Linked DNA regions of Homo sapiens: region 1 is linked to region 2. Evidence: promoter capture Hi-C in 16 types of primary human blood cells and fetal thymus (Javierre and others, 2016). All regions are on one chromosome and are shown on one strand. The core of a region is centred on a gene start or on the middle of the fragment in contact, and the rest is flanking DNA. Distances in the headings are between cores, read along the strand shown. Region 1 holds the start of PLPP1 (phospholipid phosphatase 1). Region 2 overlaps MAP3K1 (mitogen-activated protein kinase kinase kinase 1).

Region 1 (3,328 bases), core at 278-2,777, 1.3 Mb before region 2:
CCTGGTAACAGAATTTATAAGAATTCCACAAGATTGCAAGGGCCTAAATGACCCGGTTGGAAACTGGAGAGTGGAATAACTAGGAACTACTGGATTAAAACCGAGGGAATCTCCTGTCACTGAGAAACCATTACGCAGACTTCCATCCAGGTGGCTAAAGCCACAGATCTCCCACCCTGAGAACTTGCCAATACTACTACTATTCTGATTACTTCAACATGAGTAGGACTATCCAAACCTCCAGCAGCTCTTGCTTTGTTTTTGTTTATTCCATCATATATAAATAGTTCACAGCATAACTGCCTTATACAATACATAAAAAGTGAAAACTACTCCTTCCAACGCCCATCCCTTATCCAAATGATTCCAGTTCTTTCTCTTCAAAAGAAAGGAGTAACTGGCAACCAGAAGCCTCATAACTGAACTCTTCCAATCAGGAAGACAATGCGAAATCTGCTGCAGCCAAAGAATGTCTACTGCTCCTTGAGACACTGTCACAAGAGATGGAAAGCTACACCATGGCAAGGTCTGGGCAGACAAGGAAACAGGTCTGGGGTACCGCATCCTCCCCCACCCCCAAAACTTCTTTAGACCTATACGCAAAAACTTGGCGTGCTCATCCCTACTTGCAACCTGACAATTTACAACCTGGCACACCTTCTAATTAGGAACTAGTTCTAGCCTTTTATAGCCGAAATATTAAACTGCTTCTCACGATAAATCAGGCACTGGCGCCTGCTACTGAGAATCCCCTGTGCATCAAACCTCCAGTTTCACTACTGAGATGGGCCAGTGACCAGGCTCCTCTACCGTACAGAGGGGAGGAGCCCACCCTGCTCTGCTAGAGTGGAACTGCAAACAGAGGACAGGAGCAAGGTATGGAGCGCAGAGGCGTGAACAGCGTCCAAGCAGGGCTGGGCTCATCGCACCGGCGGGCGACAGACAGCGGCGGGCACGCGGGAGCCGGGGTGCAGGCTGCAAAGCGGGGTCCCTCGGCTGCAGAAGCCGCCCCCGTGTGTCGCCCCACAGCTGCGCACGCGTCAGGCAACACACCCCCGCTGCCCGTCGCGGCTCTGCGCTAAAGCCCTCCCGGGACAGCCGCACACGCCCCTCGGACCCGGCGGCGCGTACGTACCCAGCAACACGCAGAGCACATCGAGGGCCACGTACGGCAGCCGCGTCTTGTCAAACATGGTCTCTGCCCGGGCTGCCCGGCAAGGGCGATGGACTGAGCTGCGGGACGGCGGCCGAGGCCCTTGATTCTCGAGCCCGGGCCGGGGCTGGCGACGGCCCCGAGCTACGGCCCCTCCCAGCCGGAGGAGGAGAGCAGCCGAGGGCGGGCTGAGACCGGGCGGCGCTCCCACCGCCAGCAATGGCGCCCGGGGCCCTCCCCTCACAGCCCCCGCGAACACTCGGTTAGTGCCGAGGCGCTCGTGTGCCAGCCGCGGCAGCTCTGTAGCCTCAGGACCTCCTCAGCCGGCACGGCCTGCCCCGGTTGCTCCCCGTCCGGATCCCGGCGCTCTCTCCCACAGGCGGGGCGTCCAGACTCTCGCTTTAAGGATGGGGACCGGCAGGGAGGAGGAACGCGGGGTCCAGCCCCTCCCGCTGAGCAGCGCAGGACCGGGCAGCGCGCGGGTTCGCGGGCGGGGGGAGTGCAGCAGGGGCGGGGCCAGGGAAACCCCAGGCCGCGGCGGTCAGCCAATCAGCGCCGTCGGCCTCATCCCTCCCGACCTGCGGCATCCGCCCAGAAGTGCGGCTCTCGGCAGCCGGGCGGGGCGTGGGGGCGGCTCCCGTTCCGATCCAGGGGGCTTTGCTCTGGACCGCAATTGCTCAGGTGGTCTCCGAACTCGGCCTCGGTACCCCCACTAGGCATTGCTGCTTTCAGAGAGCTAGGCTCCCTACCCAACGATCCTAGAGCACCGGCTGCCTGCCACTCCCCACCCCTTCCATGGGGATGAGGTAATAAACAGGTCAGATTGTTACCACTGAGTTTAAGGGGGGAAAAGAGGTCAGAGTAGGCAGGAACAGAGACGCTCTCCTTTAGTTTGGTACCTCTGAGCCCTTTCTCACTTAGGCCTCAACGTTGACCTCCCTGTGTCCTGGCTGAGCCCAAATGTTAGCAAGAAGCATGCTAAATCATCCATCCTCGATACCTGATCACCGTTGAATTCTTGATATTTAATATCGGATTAGATTCCTTATATTACACCTTTGTTGTAGAAGCCCTTGACCTGCCTTTAGCCAGAATCCCTCTACCCTTGATGTCTCCTCTTAGTAATTTTCCATCCACCGTCACCTCCCTCACAGACACGGTGCCTGTTCCTTGGCTATAAATCCCCTGCTGTCTTTGCTGTATTCTGAGTTGAGCTCAATTTCTCTCTCCTGTTCCAATAGTCATGACCCTTATTGTAATAATCTTGAATAAATTATTCATGTGTTTGACAAGTGTCAGGATAATTTTCTTTAACAGCAGCAAGCACTCCCCCTGCCCCATACCCAGGAGGACCCTAGCCCACATTTAGTAATCTCAGTTTCCTAATATGTAAAATGGGGATTTTTTAAATAAATACCTAATACTCAGACATCACAAGTACTTTGAATTTATTGTGACCTTGCAATCTGAGGCCCTTGTAACTCTGGAAGTAAAGAAAGCCACATGATAAACAATGGCCCATCTTTCTCAGGTGTAAATTGCTTAAAGCTTTTACAGCTTTAAGCTGCCCAGTGTTCCAGTCTGGAGGAAGAAGTGAAACCCAGAAAAGATTATATGATAGTGGCTTTATCTAGAGTTAAACCGTCTACAGATGTTAATGATTGGTATATTTTCTCTTTAAATATGTAAAACACAAATCACAAAATGTGCCTACTACTTCTTCGACTTATCCTGCAAAGCACTCATAAAGCCAATGGAAAGATAACATTAAACAGAGTCTGGAGATACAGCCCCAAGTAAGCTCTCAAAAACAAAATATACATTTGAAGAAAGATGTTTTTCTTTAAAACGAATGCTAATGTTTTATTTTGCCTCTTGTTTAAATAGCCGTAAAAGCTTTAAGCAATTTACACCTGAGAAAGATGTGCCATTGTTTATCATGTAGCTTTCTTTACTTCCAGAGTTACAAGGGCCTCAGATTGCAAGGTCACAATAAATTCAAAGTACTTGTGATGTCTGAGTATTAGGTATTTATTCAAAAAACATTTGTTGAGCACCTATTGTGTTACAGTCTAGTCTCAGTGTCTTAAACAGCTTTTGAAATATTTACTTTTTAAAAGTAATTTTTAAAAACATTTACTTTTTAAAAATTTTTTATTTTTACTTTTTGTGGGT
Region 2 (2,989 bases), core at 244-2,743:
CTCCGCCTCCCAGGTTCAGGCAATTCTCCTGCCTCAGCCTCTTGAGTAGCTGGGATTACAGGCGCCTGCCACCACTTCCAACTTTTTAAATTTTTGTATTTTTAGTAGAGACAGGGTTTCACCATGTTGGCCAGGCTGGTCTTGAACTCCTGACCTCAGGTAATCCACCCGCCTCAGCTTCCCAAAGTGCTGAGATTACAGGTGTGAGCCACCATGCCCGGCCAGGTCTAGATTCTTAAATAACCAAATTTCAAGTTTTGTACAAAGATTGAAGGAAAGCTAGTCTTTAACCAGGAAGAAAAGGATTTGTTAAGAGATTATCAGCCGTATCTTTGCTGACTCATTGATACTGTGGTGCCTAAGACATCTTGGCTTTTGTGACAGAATCCTGCATACAACTTTCTCCAGGATAGTTCCTCCAGGAGGGACCCCTCTGCCAGGCACTGTGGCAGTCACATGTCCAGGCTGCATCTCTGCCCTGCTCAGCCTCTTCATCCTTGCATTCAGATCTCCATGTGGTTTAGGGTGCCCATCAGGGTAAACACTGCCATTGTCTCTTTAATTGCTGTGCTCTTACTCTTCTGGCTTTCACACCTTCAGCTTCCAATCAGTCACCAGTTCTTGTTATTGCCACTCTCCTAGTAGCCTGAGAATCCATCCAACTTCCTCCACTGCCATGACTGCTAACCCAGGGTCAGGCCACTGTCAACCCACTGTCAACCTTTTCTTCACCCTCAGAATGAAGTCCAGACTCCATAATGCAGTTCAGAAACCCTTAGGACTCAGGCTTCTGCTCACTTTCAGCAGCCCCTCAGAATGGTCTGCTCCCGTCATTTCAGCATCGTGCTCAGTTTTAGTCCCTCAACTGACCGTTCTTCTTTTTTTTTTTTAAAGAAAACAATTTTTATTTAAAAATTTATTTTATAAGAAGTATTGGCATGAATACATAGATAAGGCATTTGAAATGGCTTCTCTGGTTGGACTGTTGACCAGCTGAATTCCAGCTCTGTCCTGCAGCTGATCACCCTTCTTTCTCGGCGTGCCCAATGCTCTTACCTCTATCTAGAATACTCTTTCCAGCTCCGTGGTGAGGTTTTGTTTGTTTTGTTTTTATTCTCTTTGCAATAAAGAATTATTGGTATTCCACTAAAAAATAAATGTGGCTTTGTAGAAATCAGTGCTGTACTGTGAATTCTGCCGAGCTCTGGTTTAACAAGTTCCTCGATATCTGAGTTAGATTTGCTACTTTTAAGCCTTTTTAGTTTTTTTCTCTATCATTGTACATGTAGTCAGGTCTTTCTGAACGACAGTGTTCACAAAGAGATGTTTGTAAAGCACACATTATTGTAAAGTGAATCAGATTTTCTTATTTTGTGTTAAAAGCTCAGAGATGTGGTCTCAGGGAAAAAATGTTGCTGCCAACCTACATATTACTGTCCTTGAGAATAATCCGAGACCTTCACAGGTCAGACAACAGATGTGCTCAGATACTTCAAGCAGAGAGCTTGATGACGATGTAAGCATCACAAGATTTATGTCAGCTGCTGGACCTCCACAGACAGGGTCCCAGCAAGCTGACAGGTTGTAGGTGAGCAAGCACGTTAGATGTGCAGGTCACTCACATCCCTTTTTGTGGGATCAATGGATGTTCTTTCCTGAGAAATGAAAGGGCAGATGAGTAAGCATGCTAGAGCATGTGTCTTCAGTCCTGCTGTCACTCCTGAGGAGATGTCCATGCCTTCAAGAAACACTCAGAGCTGCCAGCCAGGCACCAAGGTGCTGGGGACACAGCAGGAGGGAAGTCTCCATCACTTGCCTGTGGAGGAGCTTACCTGATGACAGACAGTGCAGGCCCCCGTCCACTGTGAGTCGGGGAGGCATCAGGAGGCTTTTTTGGGAAATGTGAGGTGGAGCACCAAGCCAAGTCCCGATAAACGTGGAGGAATGAACCAGGTGAAAGGAACTTGCAAGGAGGTTTTGTGGCCTAGGGGTGGGTGGAGAACACACAGGCCCAGAAATCAGCAGTCTTAGGATGGCATGGAGGACTGCAAGTGTAGTTCAGGTAACTCGGCCAGAGTGGAGGCAGGGTCCAGGGACCAAGCTGGGACACGATTTCTGGCTCTGGCCAGAGAGAGAGCCACGCAGAGCTCTCTGCCTCGTATTGCCCCCACTGGCCAATCCTTGAATCTCAGCGCTTAGGACAAAATAAAAAAGCCTTTGTAATTTGACAGGTAACCACAGAGTGTTAGGAAGTGGGTCAGGAGGCCCCAAGAAGGATTTACATCAGAGCTGGGACAAGACAGTCTGGGGTCACAAATCTGGGAGCTGTGGCTTTTGTACTTCAGTAGCTCCATGTAGTTTCAGAGGTTCACAGATTGGGAAGTGTTCTCATGGCAAAATGAATTCCATCCACTGTGGTCCTGAATGTGGTTTTGGAACTACATGTTTCCATTTCAGAGACCATGCACTGTAGTGATTAAGAACCTGGGCCTTGCTGGGTGCCGTGGCTCACGCCCGTAATCCCAGTACTTTGGGAGGCTGAGGCGGGTGGATCACCTGAAGTCAGGAGTTCGAGACCAGCCAGGCCAACATGGTGAAACCCCGTCTCTACTAAAAATACAAAAATTAGCCGGGCTTGGTGGTGTGTGCCTGTAATCCCAGCTTCTTGGGAGGCTGAGGCAGGAGAATCACTTGAAACTGGAAGGCAGAGGTTGCAGTGAGCTGAGATCGCGCCACTGCTCTCCAGCCTGGGTGACATGACGAAAACTCCATCTCAAAAAAAAAAAAGAACCTGGGCCCTAGGAATTAGACCTGTTAGCTACTTGGACCCCAGGGAAGTCACTTCTCTGAACCTTGAATTTCTTGTCTCTAAAATGGGGTCGTTGGTGGTATAATGAAGCACCATTCTTGATCCAGAAAAGTATTCAGTTAATACTAACTGTAGATAATACTCTTGCAAGTAACTGTCTATGCTCACTACTTAAACCTT

Evidence for each region. Contacts are between HindIII fragments. The CHiCAGO score rates a contact against its expected background, and 5 or more counts as called.
Region 1: the fragment with the promoter of PLPP1 here is called in contact with a fragment that was not itself captured in region 2 in 1 of 17 cell types (fetal thymus); the score reaches 6.3 in fetal thymus.

Annotation. Positions count from the first base shown.
Region 1 is chr5:55,533,437-55,536,764 of GRCh38, forward strand. It overlaps PLPP1 (phospholipid phosphatase 1), which reads right to left and starts at 1,528. Exons shown (of 6, transcript NM_003711.4): 1 at 1,136-1,528. The coding sequence starts at 1,193. It also overlaps the pseudogene RNF138P1. RefSeq lists a silencer at 1,111-1,750 and an enhancer at 1,981-2,050. The HindIII fragment of the contact is 4,109 bases long and covers 1-2,699 here.
Region 2 is chr5:56,825,090-56,828,078 of GRCh38, forward strand. All of the region lies in intron 1 of MAP3K1 (mitogen-activated protein kinase kinase kinase 1), which reads left to right. Among named protein-coding and RNA genes, the nearest start is that of MAP3K1, 11 kb to the left of the region's middle. RefSeq lists an enhancer at 275-785. The HindIII fragment of the contact is 3,904 bases long and covers 1-2,989 here.